Linked DNA regions of Homo sapiens: all the other regions are linked to region 5. The links are contacts of gene promoters, found by promoter capture Hi-C in blood cells and fetal thymus (Javierre and others, 2016). All regions are on one chromosome and are shown on one strand. The core of a region is centred on a gene start or on the middle of the fragment in contact, and the rest is flanking DNA. Distances in the headings are between cores, read along the strand shown.

Region 1 (4,552 bases), core at 1,735-4,234, 840 kb after region 5:
TCATAAGCAAAGTCAATATTAAATAAATTAGTGTTACCTGATAGTAGGGGATGTCAGGTCGCAAAAAAATTTTGGAAATTGAACTTTTCCTTTGTAAAACTCCAAAGAATTTTGAGATCCTCTGAATAACATGTATGAATGAAAAAGAAGAGGAAATAAAGACACGTTGAGAACAAGTACAAAAGTATGTTTTGATAGAAAGAGTTGAACCTTTAGATCTAAACAGACAAAGGCAGAAATTCAGATGCACCTGCTTCTCTGGCTTTAAACTCTGGGCAGGTTGATTATGGAAACTGAGTTCTGGACTGGGCGCGGTGGCTCACATCTGTAATCCCAGCACTTTGCGAAGCTGAGGAGGTCAGCAGTTTGAGACCGGCCTGGCTAACATGGCGAAACCTCGTCCCTAATGAAAATACAAAAATTAGCCAGGTGTGATGGTGTGAACCTGTAGTCCCAGCTACTCAAGAGGCTGAGGCAGGAGAGTCACTTGAACCCCACAGGTGGAGGTTGCAGTCAACCAAGATCACGCCACTGTACCTCAGCCAGGGCAATGGAGAAAAAAAAGAAAAAGGAGAGGAGAGGAGAGAAGAGGAAGGAAACAAACTAACTGAGTTCTGTGAGTTCTGTACAGATGATTATGCAGCATAGATATACCATGACTCATGTTACAGAATTGGATGGAAGATTGAATGTCAAGACTGGGACAGTATCTAGTGATTAATAAATGGTAGTGTCCTCCTCCATCCAACTATGAAGCTGACTGCCAAACCTTTGGGGAAGGCTTGTCTAATTTTTTTTTTCTCTCCAAGCTTTCACTAGTGTAACAATTCTCAAAGTATGGGCCGAGGTTTAGCGGCATCACCTTCACCTAGGAACCTGTCAGAAATACAGATCCTCGGGGCTCAGCTCAGACCTACTGAATCAGGAACTCTGCCAGGAGGGCCCAGACACGCATGTTTGAATAAGCCCTCCAGGAGATTCTGATTAACCCTGGAGTTTGAGAACTGCAGATCTTGCGAATCTGAAGCTGATGAAAGTTTTGCCAAGTCTAGCAAAATGACCTACTTTCTCCTATTCTGGTACATTTCCTAATGACTCAGCTTCCCTTCGAGAAATTTAACAGCTTTGAGGAGCTAAGGTAGCAGTCCTCAGTGACTCAGCTCTAGAGAAAGCAGAAAAGCAGCCCACAGCGCAGGCCTGCTGTACAGAGCGATTTTCTTCATCAGAAGTCAGGTTTCAACAAAAATGTAAAATGTTTAAACATTACAAAACACATTGTTTCAAAATCATCTTTTCCAGACATTTGCTCAGCAATTCTAACCAGCTGTTACAGAAACCACTCTCCTTCTCTAGGGAGTTTTCAAAGATAAATTTAAATGGGAAAAACCCCCTTAATGTTTTAGGCACATTTAAAAGAAATTTATTTATTAGAGAGAATCTCCCTCTCCATTCTTTTTCTGGCACAGATCCTCTTACCTTTTATAATAACTCTTCATACCAGATGTTGTCAATATATTGCTCCTCTTTTTTTAAGGTGCTTACTTAATCCTCCTCATTTGAAAAAAACAATATTATTCTTTAAAGGAAATGAAAGCAGCTGAAACCACCTCAATTCTGTAGCATACAAACTCTAGACAATCATTTTTCTTTTTCCCACTACCACTCAAGCACCCATGCTGGTGTCAACAAATCTAATATTTAGTACCCACCTGGGAGTTTTATATCACCTCATTTTAGATGCTGGAGAGATTAGAGAAAGGCTTGAAAGACTATTGCTTTGAAAAATAACCGCTATTAAGAGCACACACAAGCACATGTTCACACACAGGAATATACACAAACTCAATATCCTTCCATGAAATGAAATCTAACATAAGAAAATCCAAATAATTAGAAAAAATTAGAATTTTCAAATGATTTTTAGTCGGGGAATTTTTCAGAGATTTAATTTTCTATGAGGCAGTTGAACCTTCTGGAATATTACCAACCTGAAGTATGTTATTCATGTGAACTCATCTAAATTGAGTTTGCTATTCAATTTCACATATTCCTACAATGTTAAAAAGTTTTCTCTTATTATTTGTTATTTTAAAGTTGTGTTGACACCAAAAAAAAACCCCACCAAAAAACTTCTGCAAAAAAATTAGCTAATTATTACTGTGATACAATTTTGATCATTTGTATTTTATACAATGGCCTATTTAAAAGGGACAAAGATCCTAAGTTTAACTGAGGAAACTGCCATCTTCCCTGTAGAAGAGGAAAAGAGAATATTATTTTCACCAGAAATGGGGAAAAATAAACCACAGAAAATTTGCCCTCATCGCAAAACAAAAGAAAGCCAGTATTCCAGTGATCTTATGAAAATCTGTCCATGTTAAAGACCTGCATCTTCAGATATAAAATCAATTAAACAGCAGTATATTAAAGTGACCCAAAACAGGCACTGACAGTAACATCCCACTCTAGAATGCTACTTGTTGCACTTGTAACTCAACAAGACACAACAGGGGCATTTGTCTACTTTACAAATAAGTAAAATTAAAGAAAAGTAAGGCATACTGTTAGAGTAACAGGAATTTTTTGCCTTGTTCTTGTATATGTGCTCTGGGTTTTCTAACACCTGGTAGTTTTGCTTTAGCTTTGTCTCAATGTGGGCATGCACCTTTTGTCTGGCTCCTTCCCAAGGATACCCTTGAGGCTATAATTTTCCATTCCACTCTGTTTTGGAGCTTCCATGCACTAGTAACCTCTCCGGCAGCATCCAACCTATCACATAAGAAGGAGGGAGCCTTACCAAGTACAAACAGATAAGAAGAAGCAAGCAGAAAACTAAATATTTAACATAAGAAAACCGAGTTGCAGAACAAGCTTCTTTGTGTTGTCCTTGCCAATGTGCTCTTCATGAGCAAAGGTGACTGATCAAATATGACCACTATTTGGGAAAAAGAAAGAAAGAATCAAATTATGTACAGTAGTCTTCCCTTACCCACAGGGGATGTGTTTCCAGACCCCTAGTGGATGCCTGACCCTGGTAATAGCACCAAACCCTATATACACTATGTTTTTTCCTATACTTACATACAATAAAGCTTATCAGTTAGGCAGAATAAGAGACTAACAATGCTAATAATGAAAAAGAATAATTACAGCAATATACTGCAGTAAAAGGTATGTGAAAGTGTTCTTTCTTTCAAAATATCTCATTGTAATGATCTCAACCTACTTTGCGACCGTGGTTGACCATAGGTAACTGAACTGCAGAAGATGAAACCCTGGATGACACTACCGTACTTATCATTGTGGTTAGATAAGACAACCACACGTATTTGCCTCATACAATATACAATTTTGTTATCTTACTGTAGTCAACATCGTGCAAGTTGTTCCAGTTCTATGGAGAGTTGAAAGCTATTGTCTAAGGACCATAGTTAAAAAAAAAAAGGACAAATTCATCTATTTTATTCACTTCTTTTTTAAAATCTATTTTCATGTATTCGTATTAAAGTGGGTAATTTGGGAGGGTAAAACAAAGATTCTGGGTCCCTTTTTACTAGGACTAAAGGAAAGCATGATATTGGAAGTGTAGAGATATTCCCCACTTTCTATTAATTTTATGAAGTAAAACACAGCTTTGGAGTAGAATTTTTCATTAGGTAAAAGTTTTCCTAAAATATTGCTAAGGGTCATTCAATTATTTCTCTACAGCTACCCCAAATAACTTGAATTTGGAAATGCTTCTGATTTTTAAAACTTGCTTCACCCTTAATCTCTGACCCTTCAATTTATATTCAGCTATATTTTTATATGATTTAAAGTATTTCTACTGAGTAACTTCACATGAACTGCTACATTAACTACCTTAATAATATTAAATTGTATAAATTGTATAAGTTTTGACGTAGTGATGGAAAAAGGATGTAAATCCCTTACCTTCCCTCCCTGAATATGTGCTTTTGGGGCTGAGGAAAGAGAAATATACGTAGAGGGAGGGAATACCACTTTTAAGAAAGATATATTAATTATACTTTTAAGTGGCACTAAAATATTTATTGTTAAATGGGACAAGTCTCTTACACATTAAAAGCCGCAGAAACCTAGCCTTACAGACAATGAGAGCTGTCTATTCAAGTTTTTAAACTTCTATGACAAATCTTTTTTCAAAGTATTATCTTGAACAAAAACAGTTGTTCTTCAAAAACCAAATTCTTCATGAAGAATTTGGTTGCCAGTTCATAAGATGATGTTTTTTCTTGCTGATTATACTCAGTTTGTTTGTTTTCCTCCCTGCATTTGTTGTCAAATGCACACACAAAATGAGGCACAAGAGAAAAGGAGGGACATACAGGGAACAGTGGGATGTGGAGAAGAGAAAGATTATACAAATCATCTCTCTCTAAAAGAGTAAATAGAAAGTTAAGAATTTCGAGTGCATGGCCACATCAGATTGAGGCAGGGAGTACATTGAAGAAGTCGCCACAAAGCTGTGGCCAGGCTTAAGGTAAACATTTCTAAAATCAAAATGGAAAATACAGTTAATCAATGGGAAAAG
Region 2 (4,709 bases), core at 1,436-3,935, 940 kb after region 5:
TTTGGGGAAATGAAGTCCTAATTTCCTCAGGCCTATCATAGAAAAAAACAAAGAACTCAGCAGCATCAGATCTCATTTTAAGTAACACAAGAAAAAGTTATTTCTTTCCTTTGAGAAAGCCAGGAACAAGGCAAATATAATTTCATTTTATAAATACTAATTGTATCTTTTTCTCCTTTCTTTTATATCACTATATCAGTAATGTTTTCTGCCTTCCTATTTCCAAAAGTTGTTAGCTCTCTACAAAATTCTAACAGTTCATTAGTGATACAGGAACAAAGCAAAACCTGCCATTTTTAATTATGCTACAAGCTTCTTAAACTATGCGTTATTCAAATTGATGCCAATTATTTTGAAATGAAATAAAAATGCTACTTATCTATGAATAATATATAGGTAATATATTATTTTTCCATCCATCTAAGAGTCTCAATTTTATGATTTAGAAGTCATCATTGCTTTTTCTCTAGAGATAAAACCATAACTTAAAACACATGAACACACTTTAAGATACACAAAAACATCCACTATCAAATATGAGAAACAATATTGGGACATGTTCTATTTCAAATGTGATATAAGATTTTTAGATTAACTTTTCAGTTGCACTGGGAGCCTAGAGCTGTCATGTATGAAATCTGTGCACCCTGGTGTCACCATGCTCTGAGGAAGCCCAAGATACATGAGGAGGCTACATGTAGGCACTCTGGTGGACAGCCCCAGCTGAGCTCAGCCTTTTAGTCATCTCAGCCCAGATACAGACATAAGAGTAAAGAAGCCTTCAGAGGATTTTAGATTTCAATCTTTTGAGTCTCCCTGGCTATTGAAGCCTTGGCCATTCTAGCTGAGGCCCCAGACATCATGATGCAGAGACCAGGCATCCCTGCCATACCCTGCCTAAATTCCTAAACTGCAGAATCCAGAAGCATAATAAAACAGTTTTTGTTTTATACTACTGCGGCTAAGCTGGCTTGTTTACAGAAATAGATAACTGAAGCATGCTAGCAATAAAGTTATGGCTGGATTTGATTTCATACAGAGCAATCAGAAAATAAATGTGCCGAAGATGTAAAGAATTAAAGTTGGCCGGGCATAGTGGCTCACACTTGTAATTCCAGCCCTTTGGGAGGCCAAGGCAGGCAGATCACTGGAGGTCAGGAGATCGCGATCAGCCTGGCCAACATGGCAAAAACCCTGTCTCTACTAAAAACTAAAAAAAAAAAAAGATTAGCCAGGCATGATAGCACACCTGTAATCCCAGTTACCTGGGATGTTGAGGCAGTAGAATCACTCGAACCTGGGAGGTAGAGGTTGCAGTGAGCCGAGATGGCATCACTGCACTCCAGCCTGGGTGATGAGAGAGTGACTGAGACTCCATCACAAAAAAGAAAAAACAAAAGAAAAAGAAAGAAAGAAAACAGAATTAAAGTTTAGGGAATATCTTTGAAACTAATACAAAAAAAAAAGGGGCATTGTATATTTCTTTTAAAAATGTCATTACTGTGTTATGATTACAAAATAAAGCTGAGAAGCTTTATTCTTAAAAAGGAAATGCCTGCCCTCTTAAATAATATTAAAACCAAAAATTTTTTTCCGATAAAAATAACTGTTTATCTTACATTGAGAAAATACACAGATAAAATAGACATAATGAGGCCAGGCATGGTTGGCTCACACCTGTAATCCCTGCAGTTTGGGAGCATCACTTGAGGCCAGGGATTTGAGACCAGCCTGGGTAACATTCCAAGACCTTATATCCATTACAATAAAATAAAACAAAAACATTAGCCAGGTGTGGTGGCACACACCTGTAGTCCTAGCTACTCAGGAGGCTGAGGCTGGAGGTTTGCATGAGCCCAGGAGTTTGAGGCTGTAGTGAGCTATGATTGTACCACTGCGCTCCAGCCTAGGCAACAGAGCAAAATACTGTCTCTCAAAATAATAATAATATAATAATAGAGATGATGAAACCCCCACACACATTTCAATAAATAGACAGATACCCAGGTCCAGAAAACCAACATACTCATTTCAATAAATAGACAGATGCCATGGCACAATGAACCAACACACACATTTCAATACATAGATAAATGGAAAGGCTGAGTGAACCAACACACACATTTCAATACATAGATACTGGGGCACAATCAACCAAAACACACATTCCAATGAATGAGTAGATCCCAAGGCACAGAAAACCAACACACACATTTAAATAAGTTGACAGATGCTGAGGTACAGTGAAGTAACACATACAATTCAATAAATAGGCAGGTGATAAAGCACAGAGAACTAACATACACATGCCAGTAAGTAGATTAAAAAGTAGATTTAAAAAATTGTCTCCCAAAAACCAAAGTAGAAACTCTTAGGCAGAATCCTAAGAATTCCCAGTGATACTCACCCTTGCATAATCCTCCCACTGAGTATAGCTAGAACCTGTGCATATGATGAGACATCATCCCTGGAATTATTTTATGTTATATGATACAGTTGGCCTTAAACCAGAGAGACTATTTAGTAGGTCTCATCTAATTACATCAGCCATTTAAAAACAGTTTTCTCCTGATGTTAGCAGAAGGGGAAGTTAGGGAAGAAAAAAAATCAGATGTTGCTCATTTGCCGATGAAAGGGAAATGCAAGAGAGAATTGGGGCACCCTCTAGGAGCAGGGAGTGACCATAATGAACAGCCAGAAAGGATGTGGGGACCTCAGACCTGCCTGTCTAGGAGGTCAAACTCTGCAACAGAGCATCCCAAAGCCTCCATAAAAGAGCCCAGCCTGGCTGATACCACGATTTTGGCCTTGTGAGACCCTAATTAGAGAACTCAGCTCAGTCTGTCCAGATTTCTGGCCTTCAGAACTCCTACCTAATAAACTAGACTTGTTTTAAGAAGCTATGTGGTAATTTATTACGCAAAAATATAAAGCTAATACTCTAGCCTCAGATTCCAATCTCATTAGTTCCACATTAGAAAGTTAGATTTACAATATACACAAAAATGTAGCACTGTTATATACCAACAGTGACCTAGCTGAGAATCAAATCAAGATCTCAATCCCTTTTACAACATCAGGAAAAAAAATAAAATACCTAAGAACATATGTAATGCGGGAGGTAAAAGATCTCCACAAGGAGAACTACAAAACACTGCTAAAAGAAATCACAGATGACACAAATGGAAATGCATCCCATGCTCATGGATTAGAAGGATCAATATTGTGAAAATGACCATACTGCCTAAAGAAATCTACAGATTCAATGCAATTTCCATCAAAATACCAACATCATTTTTCACAGAATTAGAAAAAAAAATCCTAAAATTAATATGGAATCAAAAAAGAGCCCGAATAGCCAAAGCTATCCTAAGCAAAAGTTTTTGAACAAATCTGGAGGTATCACATGACTGGACTTTGAATTATACTACAAGACTACAGTTACCAAAACAGCATGGTACTGGTATAAAAGTAGGCACATAGATCTATGGAAAAGAACAGAGAACCCAGAAATAAAGCCAAATATGTACAGCCAACTGATTTTCAACAAAGCATACAAAAACATGAATTGGGGAATGGACATCCTATGTATTAAATGGGAAAACCGGCAAACCACATATAAAAGAATAAACTGGATACCTATATCTCACTTCATACAAAAATCAACTCAAGATAGACCAAAGACTTAAATATAAGATCTGAAACTATAAAAATTCTAGCAGACAATGTTGGAAAAACTCTTCTAGACACTGGCCTAGGCAAAGAATTCATGACTAAGATCCCAAAAGCAAATGCAACAAAAACAAATAAATGGAACCAAATTAAGCTAAAAAGCTTCCACACAGCAAAAGAAACAATAAGCAGAGTAAACAGACAACACCCAGAATGGGAGAAAATATTTGCAAAGTTCACATCTGACTAAGGACTAGTATCCAGAATTTACAAGGAACACAAACAAATCAGCAAAACAAATAATCTCATTAAAAAGGGGGCAAAAGACATAGACATTTCTCAAAAGAAGACATACGAATGGTCAAAGGCATGAAAAAATGCTCAACATCACTAACCATCAGGGAAATGCAAATTAAAACCACAATGAGTTATCACCCTACTCCTGCAAGAATGGCCACGATTAAAAAGTCAGTGGGACGCAGTGGCTCATGCCTGTAATCCCAGCACTTTGGGAGGCCCAGGCAGGCGGATCACCTGAGGTCGAGACCAGCCTGACCAACATGGAGAAACCCCATCACTACTAAAAATACAAAAATTAGCTGGGCATGGTGGCATGTGCTGTAATTCCAGCTGTAATTCCATAGCTGTAATTCCAGCTACTAGGGAGGCTGAAGCAGGAGAATCACTTAAACCCAAGAGGCAGAGGTCCAGTGAGCTGAGATTGGGCCATTGCACTCCAGCCTGGGCAACAAGGGCAAAACTCCATCTCAATAAATAAATAGTCAAAAAACAATAGATAATGGTGTGGATGTGGGGAAAAGGGAATGGTTATACACTGCTGGTGGGAATGTAAATTAGTACAACCTCTATGAAAAACAGTATGGAGAATCCTTAAAGAGATAAAAGTAGATCTACCATTTAATCCGGCAATCCTACTATTGAGTATCTACCCAAAGGAAAAGAAGTCATTCTATGAAAAGACACTTGCACACGTATGTTTACAGCAGCACAATTCACATTTGCAAAGATGTAGAACC
Region 3 (4,516 bases), core at 1,445-3,944, 820 kb after region 5:
TCTACATTTTTGTGTCATATTAGCCAAACCTGACTTCACTGTACATTATTTTAGCCCAATGCTAAACAAGAACCACTGCTAATCTGCACATATGAAGCCTGGGAAATAAGGTCTTCAATAAAGATTTTTTTTTAACTTATCAAAAACAAACATGGATTAAACTTTTTATAAATAATGCTTCAAAGAGATATCTTTTCAGTAGTAAAAACAGACTGAATGTGTCCAAATATTCAGTCAGCATAGTTGGTTTAGATGATCTCTAAAGGGCTCTTCCATATGAAACTACGTTCCAATCACACCAGAGGGAGCACACTTAGGAAACTTAATAACAACAACTCTTCTCTTTCCTTGCAGTTAACAATTGAATATCTTTTACCAGTCTCCATTCTGCCAAAACGTTTTCTGTATACAAGCTGGCAGCACTGGAGAAGTTGTCGTCTTCTTTCTTTCCAACTCTTAGCATTGGTAGCCAAAAGTCTCTTTGTTGCTCAAATAGTCCATGCCATCTGCCAGCAGTTTCTCCATCCTGCGGTACCATCTGCCAAGCTCTGCTTCAGCGTCCAGGCCACGCTGCCTGAATGCTATTTCAAATGGCTGTCTCACCAGAAGAGAGAGCAAGCAAACCAACACCTTTTGGTTTTAACCATTCTTGGTAATCGTCACAAACACTCTCCTCTAGCTGACTGGTTCTAAAGATGGCAAAAAGCTCAACAATTTGAATGAAACAATTTCCTTTGATTTTTTTTTTAGCCTAAGAAATTAGACAGCTATAGAATGTTAATATAATCAGTCATTGATATAACACATTTTTATAGCTGCGATTCCTTTTTGTTTTTATAATGTATTCTTAATTACAATAAATTATTCTTCAGATAAAAAAGCAAAAAGGGGAAAACAATCCGTATTTCTACAGTTAATCCTGATTATATTAAAAGCAACTGCTGGCAGAAATTAATAATTCAGATGAATGTTATTAACAGTATAATACTAACTTTATGCTGCACTGCACTATTCTTCATTCTAATCTGCTTAAAATTCTTGACTTTAAAGTAGAAAACAACAAGGGCTGCATAACAGTCCCTTAACAAGGTTAAGCCTAAAGAGTTCCATTAATATCCTCCCTAAGGCCACCAGGAAATTCCTTAAAGGAAGAGAGTTTCAGGATTTGCTGTGGGTTATGCTCTAGGGCTTTTCTTTCTAGATTTGTTACTGCTATGAATTTATCTTACGTCTCCATCACTGCCCAGCCTTCAAGGGAGGCCCTCTTTATTCCCAGTCATCAAAACTCCTAGGATAACTCAACTACGATGACATGTGGAAGACTTTGCTATACTAGCACCAAAATTAAATTAACATTCAACTGAATGTCAGGAATCAAGTTCATTTATAAGAAATTATATTGTTCTACCCAAATGTCAGAAAATGTACATATTTTAAGATGCAACATCTGAGGTTTTCCAATCTTTACAGATAGCAATGTACACCATAGGCATGTCTGACCTTTATAAATGGGGGAGGGTGCTCTTATTGTATTAACCTCCACATTTCTTTTACATCTTTTAGCTTTGTAGACCATAGATCTTGATGTTGGGGTATATGGCTATTCTCATCCATTTCTAAAAACATAATCTACTTTTATACTCCTAATATGTGCAGAGTAAAGTTTCTAGTTTTTATTTCCCAAATTTTTATTCACAACAGAACAGCACATACTTGTTAAAGTCGAATACTTCCGAATACCACTAAATAAAATTTCATCATACCTATCATTATGCATATTCTGCTCACTTCAAGAAAAAGAAAAAAGAAAAGAAAAAATTGGCTATTAAATATTGGTCTTCAATGTCATATTTTTTTGCCTTGAAGCATACTATATTTAATAAACATCATGTAAAAGTATTCACATCTAAGATTTTACATTCTAATTTCACTGAAATTTGAGAATAATAAAGTTCTTAAAAACTTTTACTTTTCCTCAAATACTTAGACAAACCCAGGTGAATATTGGAAACATGAGAATGATGCATAATTTTGTGAGGGTTAAAAGCAATAAATACTCTGAAGCATAATGTTTTTAAAAATTCTAACTGAAATCATAAATGAGTTTTTAAATAAATTGTATATATTGAAGGTATATAACATGTTATATTATATATGTATTTTACTATATTTTTTATATATTATATATGTATATATAATATATACACCTATATATACAGTAAAACTGTTACTGTTGTAGAACAAATTAACACACCCATCATCTCACATAGTTAACCATTTCCCCTCCCATGGCAAGAACAGCTATAATCTATTCATTTAGCAAAAATCGTAAATACAATACACTATCATTAATGTACCCTATGTTGCATCCTTTGACCTAAATCTATTTCCTCCCCTACCCCAACTCTGGCAACCACTGTTTTATCCTCTCTATATATTTCATTTTCCTTTTTTTTTTTTTTTTAGATTCCACATATAAGTGAGTTCATGTAGTATTTTCCTTTCTGTGTCTGGCTTGTTTCATTTAGCAAAATATACTCCAGGACCATCCATGTTGTGGCATAGAGCAGAATCTCCTTTTTTAAAAAGGCTGAATAATATTCTATTGTGTATACACACCACAGTTTCTTTACCGATAAATACCTAGATTGTCTCTGTATCCTGGCTATTGTGGATAATGCTGCAATGAACATGTTTCAATTGAGGTGATCCTCTCTGGTACTTTAACTTTAAAGATATTTTACCACTTGATGAAAACTAAGGTTAATATGATAGTATTAACGTATTTGATAAAATGAGCAATTAACTAGTTTCCTTAAGTTTAAATATGCTGTTTATATATACTTAAACTTATGGAATCCATTGAATCCATTTACAATATTATGGATACACTATTGTATCCATTTATACCATAATTTAAAGTTTGGAACTGTGAACCCAGATAAATTCCATTGAAGTACCGTTTGAAAGACAAATCCAAATTACCAAGTGTTCAGGACTAACCCTCCCTTTAGACGATTAAGGATCTGTAGAAGGATATGTTTGTCTCATTCCTTTTGTCTTGGGATGAGCTCTTAATGGGGTTCAGAATCTCTAATTATGTCATCTTGACATTTGAGAAAACTTCAGAAGCAGGAAGGCCATTCTCACCTTCCCTTGGCTCTTGTCCCCTGAAGCAGGCTATAAAATCGAGGATGTCACTCTCTGACTTTCTCCCCAGAAGTGTTCTTCCTATGCTTGGAGGAAAGAAACATTCTTATCTCTGAAGACACAGAGAAGAATATGAACAAGAAGGCCTTGTTTGACCCCTGTCCCCCAGTTCAATTCCATTAGATCATACTCCCTTTGTCCAAAAATATTTATCTATAATTATCAACTTCTTAATCAAACTTAGCATAAAAATACACAGGTCTCTCTGTTTTTTTGCATCTTAATTTTCCTATGAAGTGTCCTATGTCACATAAAACTTTTATATTAAGTACATTTGTATGATTTTTTCTCATTCATCTGTCTTTTCCTATAGGGGCCTCAGTCATGAACCTAGAAATGGGTGAGAAAACAAATTTTCCTTCCCCTACATTCTCTTCCACATAAGATAACTTATAAAGGCACCAATAGCTTGAGAGACAGATACAAACAGGATTTATTCTTAAGATAAAGAGTTACTTTTAGATGAAGGCTCTCCCCTAAAATGTATGCTGCTAATTTATGAACTGCTGAAGAAAGATGTGCCTTCATGAATCTGAATGATATTAACTGAAGAAAGTTGAAAAAAGATGCTCAAAGTTCACCAGGGGATTGATATGCAGCATTCAAACAGTGATGCAAAACAGATAATAATATGAATTTCACTGGCTTCAGCAATAACTGATAATAAGTGAGAGATTCTTTTTTAAATTTAAAAGTGGAGTGGGGGTCAAATATGGAACAAGAAAAGACCCATAACAACCAAAGCAATCTTGAGCAAAACAAACAAACAAACAAAAAACCTGGAGGCATTACACACTGATCTAAAAAAGAAAATCCTAAAACTCTTTTATAATCAAAACAGCATGGTACTGGATGGCATAAAACAGACACGTCAACCAATGAACAGGACAGAAAACCCAGAAAGAAATCTAAGTATTTATAGTAAATTATGACACACAGGTGCCAAAATTGGAAATAAGTACAGTCTCTTTAATAAATGGTGGTGGGAAAATGGGATATTCACAAGCAGAAAAATGAAATTGAACTTTTATCTCACAACATATTCAAAAATTTACTCAAAAGAATAAAGAAATCTAACATAAAACTTGAAACTATAAGTAGAAGAAAACAAGGGAAATGCTCCATGACACCAGTCTGGGAAATGATTTATTGGATAGCATTCCAAAAGCACAGGCAATGAAAGCAAAAACAGAAAAACAGGATTGCATCAAACTAAAAATTGTTTCCTCTGCACAACAAAGGAAACAGTTAACAGAGTGAAGATACAACCTAGATTGGGAGAAAATATTTGCAAACCGTCCATCTG
Region 4 (4,503 bases), core at 1,120-3,619, 790 kb after region 5:
CTCCCTTCTTGTAGTTGCACAGAAAAGACTCTTAGACTTCCTTTTGTTTCCCCACATCTAATCCATCAATGAATCTTTTTGAGGCTGCCTTCACAATACACCCAGAATCTGACCACATCTCTTCATCTCCACTGACATCACCCTGATCCAAACCATTTGACACTTCCACCCCTATATCTTTTCTCAGTACAGCAGCTAGTGATCCTATTACTGTAATTATATATCAGATGATTTCACTTTTCTTAGTTTTCATACGACATCTTCAAAATCCATGTGTGTTTTACATATAGCACATCTCAATTCAAGGTAGCCACATCACAAGTATTCAACAGCCACACATGACTAGCGGCTACCATACTGAATAGATCAGTTATTGAGACTGTTTCATATTATTCAAAGTAAATCCTCTGGTCTAAGCTAATGAGTGCCCAATTCACTCCAAGTCAAAGTCAACATCCTCAATGTGGCCCACAATAAGATCTTCCTCCACCCACTGCACCTGTCAAGCTTCACCTCCAACTCTCTCCACAGTCACCTCCAGGCACAGGTGTTCCTTTGCTCCTGCTGGAAGAGCCTAAGCACACTCCAGACTATGGCTTTCACACTCATTGCTCTCTCCCCACCTTGATTGCACCTTCATAGCAATGTAAGCTCTTCCTCTTCTCTACAAATAAGACAGTATTCTCCATTTCACCTTGTCCCCTCTGGCTCCCCCTATCTACTTATCATTACCTGTGTTATAATGTTATATTGTCTCTCTCCCTCTCAGCAGAATATAAGCGTCATGAAGCACTCAATACATATGTGTTAAATAAATAAATGAATAATCAATGCTAAGCATTCCACTGGTTGCCATGTACAAAGACATGGTAATTTTCAATGACTACCTTCGGGGCATCCTAATTACAAAGTAAAGAGGCATGGATGCATAAACACAGAGCCAGGGGTACCAGAACAGGAGCACAAAGCTCTAGAACTGCCCAGGGGAAAATACTCCTAACTACTGAGAGCCAAAGGATAGGCAAATTCAGAAAAATTGTCCAGGGGGAACATCTGGGGCTGAATATTAGCTGGCAAATGGTAGCTCTCCAGGTATAATGGTGACAAGAGTAAGGGAAGAGACAAGAGTTCAGAGAAGAATGTGGCTGGTTTTCAATGAGACTGCAGTAAGCTTTTTACTGCAGTATTGCAAGCATCTCTTAATAAAGCAATATTAGAATCTCTCCAGTGAAAATATTTGCATTATTTTGAACACTGATTAAAACATTTTGTGCAAGATAAAGCAAAGGAATGCCATACACTATGCAAGACCCACTGTGGCACTTGGCATAAAATAAATCATCGAGCTCTAAAATCTGCTGCGGTTGCCGTCTTCAATACAGAGACCTTGCACGCAGCATACAAAAACATCTATAATGTTTACAGCACCTGGATGCCTTCACTATTAAACATCAATACAATCTGTGTTCATATCATCTCCATGCTAATCAGATCGATTACTACTGATATAGTGTCTTGTCACAGTATCGTAATGCTAATCAAACAAATGGAGCTATGGGGAGATGATTCCGATGTATAGGTATTTAATAGCACAAGGTTAAAAAAAAAAAAAAAAGAAAAGGACTTAAGAGAAAACACACAGCGTGCAGTTGAATCACGGGCAGGCAGATTCCATATCGGGTCCTGGGTGGTGCTGTTGTAATTTTGTCAGCAGCCATTGAAAAGAGAATATAATACAGTTTGATGCCATAAAATGGACTTGAAAGGAAAAAGAGATTACTGCTGCTGCTTAACATGGAAGTGGTAATTAGCTGCACAGGTAATTAGATACAGATTCCTAGAATATCCTCATGGAGGCAGTGGATGATGGCAAGAGATATTATCTCTTGCCTGTTGAAAAGGATCAATGTCACAGTTGTTTTAAATCCTAAACAACATCCGCATCCAAAACAATACCCTCCAGACAGCAAAGATGCTGTAGTAGCTGCAGTGAAACGTGCTATCACTTAATAAAAATGAGTGAGGGAACACAGGATGGGAGGCTGAGCAAGAGGGGACATCCCTGCCTCCCTGTGGCTAGCAGGCCTTAGGCCATGTGTACATCTAGCTCAGTTGTCACTTTGTGACACTTACCGTTGTGCATGTGTCCTGGTTTTCTCCTGGTTTTCTTCAGCTAATTTCATTTATAGTGAAATCCTCAGACAAAGACTATAAGGGGATGTGGTGGGGGGAGGTGGAAATCAATGATGGTACCCAAAACAAGGAAAATCCATTAACATACTGTTCCTTTAAATAATTACCCAATAAATTTAATATATATTCAATGTATACATGTTTTGGTCAGAAGCATATATTTCATCAACTGAGATACTCCCACCCTTGAATGTGGAGGCAAATGAAACTTCTTGACTAGGGGCTGAAAATTATTTTCTCCTTCTGGATATATTAGGAAAACACAAGCATTCCCAAGACCATTATGCTGTTCCATGCCTTGTCATCTTCTATTTATTCATTCAGTAAGTATTTATAAAATGCCTACTATGTATGCAGTTCTGAACCAAAGCATACCTTCCTGTACACACTAGGGCCACCACAGCATTGACACTGTGCCTAGACTGCCAGCCAGGGGCCAGATGGATTGCAGTGTGGTGAGTGCTCCTGCTGGCATGCGGAGAAGGCGGAGAAGGCAAAGCAGACATGGTAAATTCTGCATCCAGTTGCAATAAAACCGATAGTCCCAGAGAACATATGCCAAAAGTAAAATTAACTTTCCAGAAAAAAACACTGTATACCTCTTTCTATAGAAGGAGAAACACATTATATAATTCAGATGGATTTAGAATCAGCAATTCTGGGTAACTGATTAGAATGCTTCCAGTTGGAAAGAATACAGCTATTAGAAAACCAGTTTGTTATTTCACGGAAAAGAAACTTTCCGTATGTTACTCTGGAAGAGTCCTAACATCTTCAGTTTTCTCTTCACCAGCCTTGAATCAGTTGAAGGTTCAGTGGTGAACTGGATGTAAAAAGTAAGCCTAAGTAGTTTGACACTGTGAATGACTATCAGAGGTATACACAGCCATGCCTGCTGACTGTTGGAAATCATTTAACATCATAAATGAATTTTACTCAGCACATATTCAATTTTTTGTTTAAACATCTGTAATATTCCTTTAGATCATGCTGCTTCTTATAATGGCAGAATGGCACTGCCATCTAGCTGGACTTGAACAGTTCTGGAGCCAGGGCTGGCTTCATGGGTAATGCACAAAGAGGACCCCCTACTTTGTTTGGTTTATTGTTCTGTTGTTGTTGGCTTCATTCTTAATAAATTGAGAATAATGGGTCCACATTCCATTTTGCATTGGGCCCTGCAAATGTAACTGGTCCTGCTCATTGAGGAAGATGGCAAATATCAGCATCCCTTTTATATATAGTAGAGAGACAACTGCTTTATCTATCACAGGGCATTCTCTATAAAAGCTATTTGTGTCTTTCATTCTTAGGAATGCAGGAAGAATCGAGATCATGAAGAGCAGAGAAGACCTTTAGAAGGAGTCAAGCTTATTGGTGTAAAGGATGAGAAGCAATAGATTTGATGTGCTCAGAGCTGGACTGGAATGACCCTTAAGAGTTAATGGATCTAGAAAACCAATCTAGAGTAACTGGGAGGCAAAATGAAAAAGACGCACGGCTTACTCAGTTTCCCCACAATGAGAGAACAACACCAGAAGCATAAGGCATTGAGCTCTGGGAGTCCAGCAATAGCACCTCTACTTATCTCTCTACTTATCTCACCCTGGCACTGCACATAATATTCCTCATCTGGCCTTGGTTATCTAGGGATAAACAGTCTATTATCAAAAGTTTCATCTATAATTCTTTAGCTTATATACAATTTACCAGCCTTATGTTTCATAAAATACCTAGTTAGTCTCTCCTATCCTATCTTTTGTTTGTTTTTCTTACCATTTTATTGGATTCTCAAGAGATTTCTACTGTCATGAAAATGAACTTTTCTCAGGCCTCCTCATCTTGGTCCCTCCATACATTTTTTTTTTTTTTTTTTTTGAGACAGGGTCTCATTCTGTTGCCCAGGCTGGAGTACAGTGGCACAATCTTGGTTACTAGCAGCCTTGACCTCCCAGGTTCAAATGATCCTCCCACCTGAGCCTCCCGAGTAGCTGGAACTACAGAAGCACACAACCACATCCATCTAATTATTGTATTTTTGTACAGATGGGGTTTCACCATGTTGCCAAGACTGGTCTCAAATTCCTGAGCTCAAGAGATCTGCCTGGCTTGGCCTCCCAAAGTACCAGGATTATAGGGATGAGTCACTCTTCACACCTTCTAACACATTTATGTCCCATTTGATGTCAACTTCAAGGCCTCATCTGTTCCTTTGGCTTGTGCAACACAGTTCCCTCCCTCTCTCCCTTTCTCCTCTGTTTGCTCTCTTGTCTTCTCTGCCAGATCTTGGTCTACTGCATATCTTACTCT
Region 5 (4,224 bases), core at 931-3,430:
ACTTATGGCAAAGAAAGAGCTGCAAACGTGCGGATCTGGGTGGCAAAGGCATTCCTGAATTTTCTTCCCCCCTCAAATAAATGCCCAAGCTTAAAGTGGTGTGTGTGCTGGTGGGGGGCGTGAGGAGAAGGAAGGGTGACAGTACCAGATGCAAGGCTAGGATCCACTAGCTGATGTTCTGGGGATGCCAAGGAGGCTGCAGAGTTAGCTCTACCACTGCCGCCATCGCCTTGCAAGTGCCTTGGGTGAGGGCACTTCAGGAAGGCTTTTTCGCCTTTCTTTCACCCATTTCCTCCATAGATGGTTTCTCCATCTCCAATCACCTGTAGCAGCTGCTAAGAGTTTTGTTGTTAGATTCCAGACACTGTTCTCAGAGGGGTAGGGAGGCTCACTCTAGAGAGTGGTCCGAGAAGGAAGCACAAACCCCACTGCATTCCCCATGGATTCCCCTTTCCAGAGCATACCCCTTGCCGCTCCCCACAAATGCGGTCCCCAGACTGTTCTGGGCCTCGAAATGCTTATCTCCACAGCAGCCTGTCCACACACCCTTTTTGGCAGTGGTTGAGAACAAATTCCACTCAAAAGTTTCTAACCACTTCACAAGAGTGAGAGACCTTCGAGGGCCTGCAATTTGTTTTAGCTAATAATAATTTCTAAAAGAACGTACGATTTACTTTCCCAGACAACACATGGATGAAGAGAGAAGAGACCAACCGTCTTGGTTGCCAGCAGCACCCAACCCCAAGCCCCTATCTCAGCCACAAGCCAACTTGCTCCACCAGCCTGAGCCTTATGATTCTGAAGCATAACCAGTCATTCTCCAAAGAATCTACAGCATCTGAAAACCAAAACTAAACTCTTGTCTTTCCCAAGCCCTTCAGTTAACATTGCTCAATGTAGCTAAGTGGAGGGAATGCAAATGATTTATATTTCACTGGCTAGTTGGAGAAACTCAAGGGAGATGTGTTCTGCTTCAAGACAGGGAAAAAAAATTCCCAAAAACTGTAATGCAAAGGCTTTGTAGTATTTTTAAACCTTTGATTCAGTCCATATGTGACATATGAACACCGCCAAATTCTGTTTCAAAACACACTCACACACACACACACACACACACACACACACTCCTAGCAGGAGAGGAAAGTTGGGTTTTAGCAGCCGTGGTGGTGTAGGAAGGGCCGGCTGGGATCTCTCTTTAAATTATTGAGTACTGAGGGAGCCTTCTTCTGTGCCGTTCTGCGTGGCCTTCCTGCTTTAGCGGTCACTTTTAAAGGGGAAACCATGTTGCAATAAATAGAAAAACTTTCAGTGGCTTACCTGGTTGGCCTCTCACTTGGTGTCTTGAAAAGTAGAGGGCTAAGAAAACCCAGGTGAGAGGAAACATATCCATTTTGGAGAAGGTGGCTCTTTCCAGAGCTGGGTTCGTAGGTTTCTTGTTTAAATCTTTGTGTTTTTCTCTCTTTTATTTTCCTCCTTACAACGTCTTATGCAGAGGTTTCTAATGGTCAGCGTTTCCCTCCTGAGTCCTGGTGGCTTGTCTTCACCTCTATTCTTGCTGGAATTTCCACCTCACCAGGAGGAGAGTAGCTCCTGAAATCAGCAAAGAGGGAACAAGCCGGGAAGAGAACACGGTTTTCCTCTTAAAAACAAAACGCATATATGTTCTCTCCAGTTCCTCAAAGTGTCATTTCCTTTATCCTACAAATATCACGAGTATTTCCCGAAAGCCAAGCGTAACAATAATGATAATAATAATAATTAAAACCAAGACTTGCCTTGGGCATCACACGGCCCCCAGGCAGCTGTGTGATCTCAGAGGCGTAAACTGACACACATCCCGCGGCACCCTTGACGGACACACGGGCGGAGGCAGCCGCCGCCGGACAGCCCGAGTGGAAGGCGGCCGCCCTGCTCTTGTCCTCGCCGGGTTCCCCCGGCGGGAGCCTCCCCCAACGGCTACACCCGCTTGGCCAGCCTCTCGAGGGGAGTCTGAGGAAGGAAGCTGCTGCTGCTGTTGCTGCTGCTGGTGCGGCGGCGGTGGCGGCTGGGATCGCCTGGGAGTGAGCGAGCCCCTCTCCGAGTTCGCTGGCGCCCGCCCTCACCTCCACCTCGCCGAGTGTCTGTGCGGCTGAGGATGTGCTGGGGGCCGGCTGCAGGCTGGTGCCTCGCTCGCGATCTCTGCCTCCCCTCCGGCTCCCCACTGCCTTTTCAGGCCGAGCAGCATGTGGATGTCAGAGCCGCGGCAGAGCTATCCGATTACGCGCCGGCTCAGGGCCCGCCCCTTCTGTGTTCCTGATTAAAGAGGCAGCCGCGGAGACGCGCGGCGCAGAGCAGAGTGCCGCGGCACCCAGCTCGGGCGGGGCGGCGACGGCTTCTCTCGGGCCGCCGCAGGATCGAAGTTAAGGCGGCGCCCATCCCACCACCCCTCGCCCGCCCCGCATCTCCCGATCGCCCCCGCGCACCTCCGCGCCGGGCCGCCGGTGCGTAACGCCCTGGGGAAGAAGCGCCCCCGGGCACCCCCAGGGCGCGCCGCCTTGGCCGTGTCGCCCCCACCCAAGGGAGACCCCGGGGGGACGGGGGGAAAAGCCTTGTTCCCCCTAAATTCCACGACTCCGATGCCACACACGCAGAACCCAACACAATGCCACGCGCGATGGCGTTACAAGAGGAGTTGGGTGGCGTACGGTGTTTGGGGTAGCGAGCCGGTCGGCAGCTCAGCCATGCGTTCGAACAGGCAGCGGTGCGTGGCGGCGACACACACCGTCAGCCCGGTCTGAATAAAACCCCAAACACTCGCTGCGTTTACTACTCAGATCCTTTGTTATGTCCCAAACATGCTCTGCTCCTCTCTGGGTTAGGATTTCGTTACCCCTGCGCCTTTAACTGTAACTACCCTAAAAAGAGGAAAGACTTTCTTCAGCAAATAATTTCTTCAGGTAATTAAATTGGATTCCATCAAGTTCCCCCGAAAAAGTATAGGTGCTTGAAGGCGTCTCATCCAAATGCTACTGTAACTACGTCTATTCACATTTTCCCCCATGGAAACGTGGTCACAAAGCCTAGAGAAAGAAAACATCATTATGCCAACTATTTTTAAATGGAGGCGTGAAAACTGTTTAGAGGGAACTGCAAGCTAACAGTTGGGGAAACACTTGTATCTTTGTTTCTGAGGATGGCTTTGTGGATTCCAAACTGTCTTGCTTCACCAGACACCTATTACTACATTATCATAAAGACTGCAACAGAAACAGCCTAAATTACACCCTGCACATGTACACCTTTTCTGCCACAAAAGAGGTATATGAAAAATAAGAAAATTCAGAAAAATATTTACAGATTAAGATTTTTTTTAAATTAAGAAAGTAAAATTTTCTGTAGATTAAGAAAAATACAGTTTCGGTGACGAGAAACACACACCTGACTACCCATTTTCTTCTTGGCTTGTACTTGTGGATTCTTCTGGGTGGTTTCCCTCCTTATCTGGACTTGCCCATTAGCTTTATCACTTTTAGTGTTTGAAAAATCTGTAACTCCCACTTAACTGTTATTTACACTGAGATAACCAAAACAAAATTGAATCAGAAGTGATTTGCAAATAGTTGAGCCAAGCTGTGTTGGGGGGTGGCGCGGGATTTTAGAGTGGAAATCCACAGGCTGAGTATCACACTGTTAATCTCAGATGCCTGGTTGGGAAAGGCACAGCACAGAGGCCTCTGAGTTCTTCCAGGGAGCATGTCTCTTGGCTAGCCTAAATGCTACCTTTCATTCCCTCTTTGCCTCCCTCCTTCCTCTTCCTCCCTCCTTTCCTTCCTTCTTCCTTCCTTTCTAGGCTTGAGAGCACATCCACATTATTAAAAACTCCAGATTTACATTTCTCCTCTTTAAAGCTCAATTGTAAAGAATGACTCCAAGCCTTAAATATTTAACAAAGTAAAAGAGCAGTTTGGATTATTAACCTTAAGCAGAGATCCCGGTTTATGTCATTGCCAAGATGCTAATCTAAGGACAAAGAACGCTATCTGTAGTGACAGTCCCTGAATAGAGAGGGCCATTTAATATCACCTCTCCCCACCACTCACCAGGCATGCCAAACCATTTTTGCCAGTGCCCAATGTGGGAGACTCCTGTTTGTGAGAATAATGTAGCCAGGGTTTAGGTGAAGGGCACTGTGAAAGGGGGAAAGAAGAGAGAAAAGGTAAACCTAAGCCCACTGGAGAACCATAA

The links. Contacts are between HindIII fragments. The CHiCAGO score rates a contact against its expected background, and 5 or more counts as called.
Region 1: a fragment that was not itself captured here is called in contact with the fragment with the promoter of NRP2 in region 5 in 5 of 17 cell types (non-activated CD4 T cells, total CD4 T cells, activated CD4 T cells and 2 more); the score reaches 8.0 in non-activated CD4 T cells.
Region 2: a contact is called between a fragment that was not itself captured here and the fragment with the promoter of NRP2 in region 5, in 1 of 17 cell types (non-activated CD4 T cells). The highest score is 5.2, in non-activated CD4 T cells.
Region 3: a contact is called between a fragment that was not itself captured here and the fragment with the promoter of NRP2 in region 5, in 4 of 17 cell types (non-activated CD4 T cells, total CD4 T cells, naive CD4 T cells and 1 more). The highest score is 10.9, in non-activated CD4 T cells.
Region 4: a contact is called between a fragment that was not itself captured here and the fragment with the promoter of NRP2 in region 5, in 5 of 17 cell types (megakaryocytes, M1 macrophages, erythroblasts and 2 more). The highest score is 13.3, in megakaryocytes.

The regions. Positions count from the first base shown.
Region 1 is chr2:204,839,426-204,843,977 of GRCh38, reverse strand. All of the region lies in intron 2 of PARD3B (par-3 family cell polarity regulator beta), which reads right to left. Among named protein-coding and RNA genes, the nearest start is that of PARD3B, 300 kb to the right of the region's middle. The HindIII fragment of the contact is 221 bases long and covers 2,874-3,094 here.
Region 2 is chr2:204,736,697-204,741,405 of GRCh38, reverse strand. The region is part of intron 2 of PARD3B (par-3 family cell polarity regulator beta); the gene reads right to left. Among named protein-coding and RNA genes, the nearest start is that of PARD3B, 190 kb to the right of the region's middle. The HindIII fragment of the contact is 2,302 bases long and covers 1,535-3,836 here.
Region 3 is chr2:204,856,448-204,860,963 of GRCh38, reverse strand. All of the region lies in intron 2 of PARD3B (par-3 family cell polarity regulator beta), which reads right to left. Among named protein-coding and RNA genes, the nearest start is that of PARD3B, 310 kb to the right of the region's middle. The HindIII fragment of the contact is 8,221 bases long and covers 1-4,516 here.
Region 4 is chr2:204,888,299-204,892,801 of GRCh38, reverse strand. All of the region lies in intron 2 of PARD3B (par-3 family cell polarity regulator beta), which reads right to left. Among named protein-coding and RNA genes, the nearest start is that of PARD3B, 350 kb to the right of the region's middle. The HindIII fragment of the contact is 2,392 bases long and covers 1,174-3,565 here.
Region 5 is chr2:205,680,457-205,684,680 of GRCh38, reverse strand. It overlaps NRP2 (neuropilin 2), which reads right to left and starts at 2,180. Exons shown (of 17, transcript NM_003872.3): 1 at 1,318-2,180. The coding sequence starts at 1,390. RefSeq lists an enhancer at 1-185 and a silencer at 2,660-2,779. The HindIII fragment of the contact is 6,030 bases long and covers 92-4,224 here.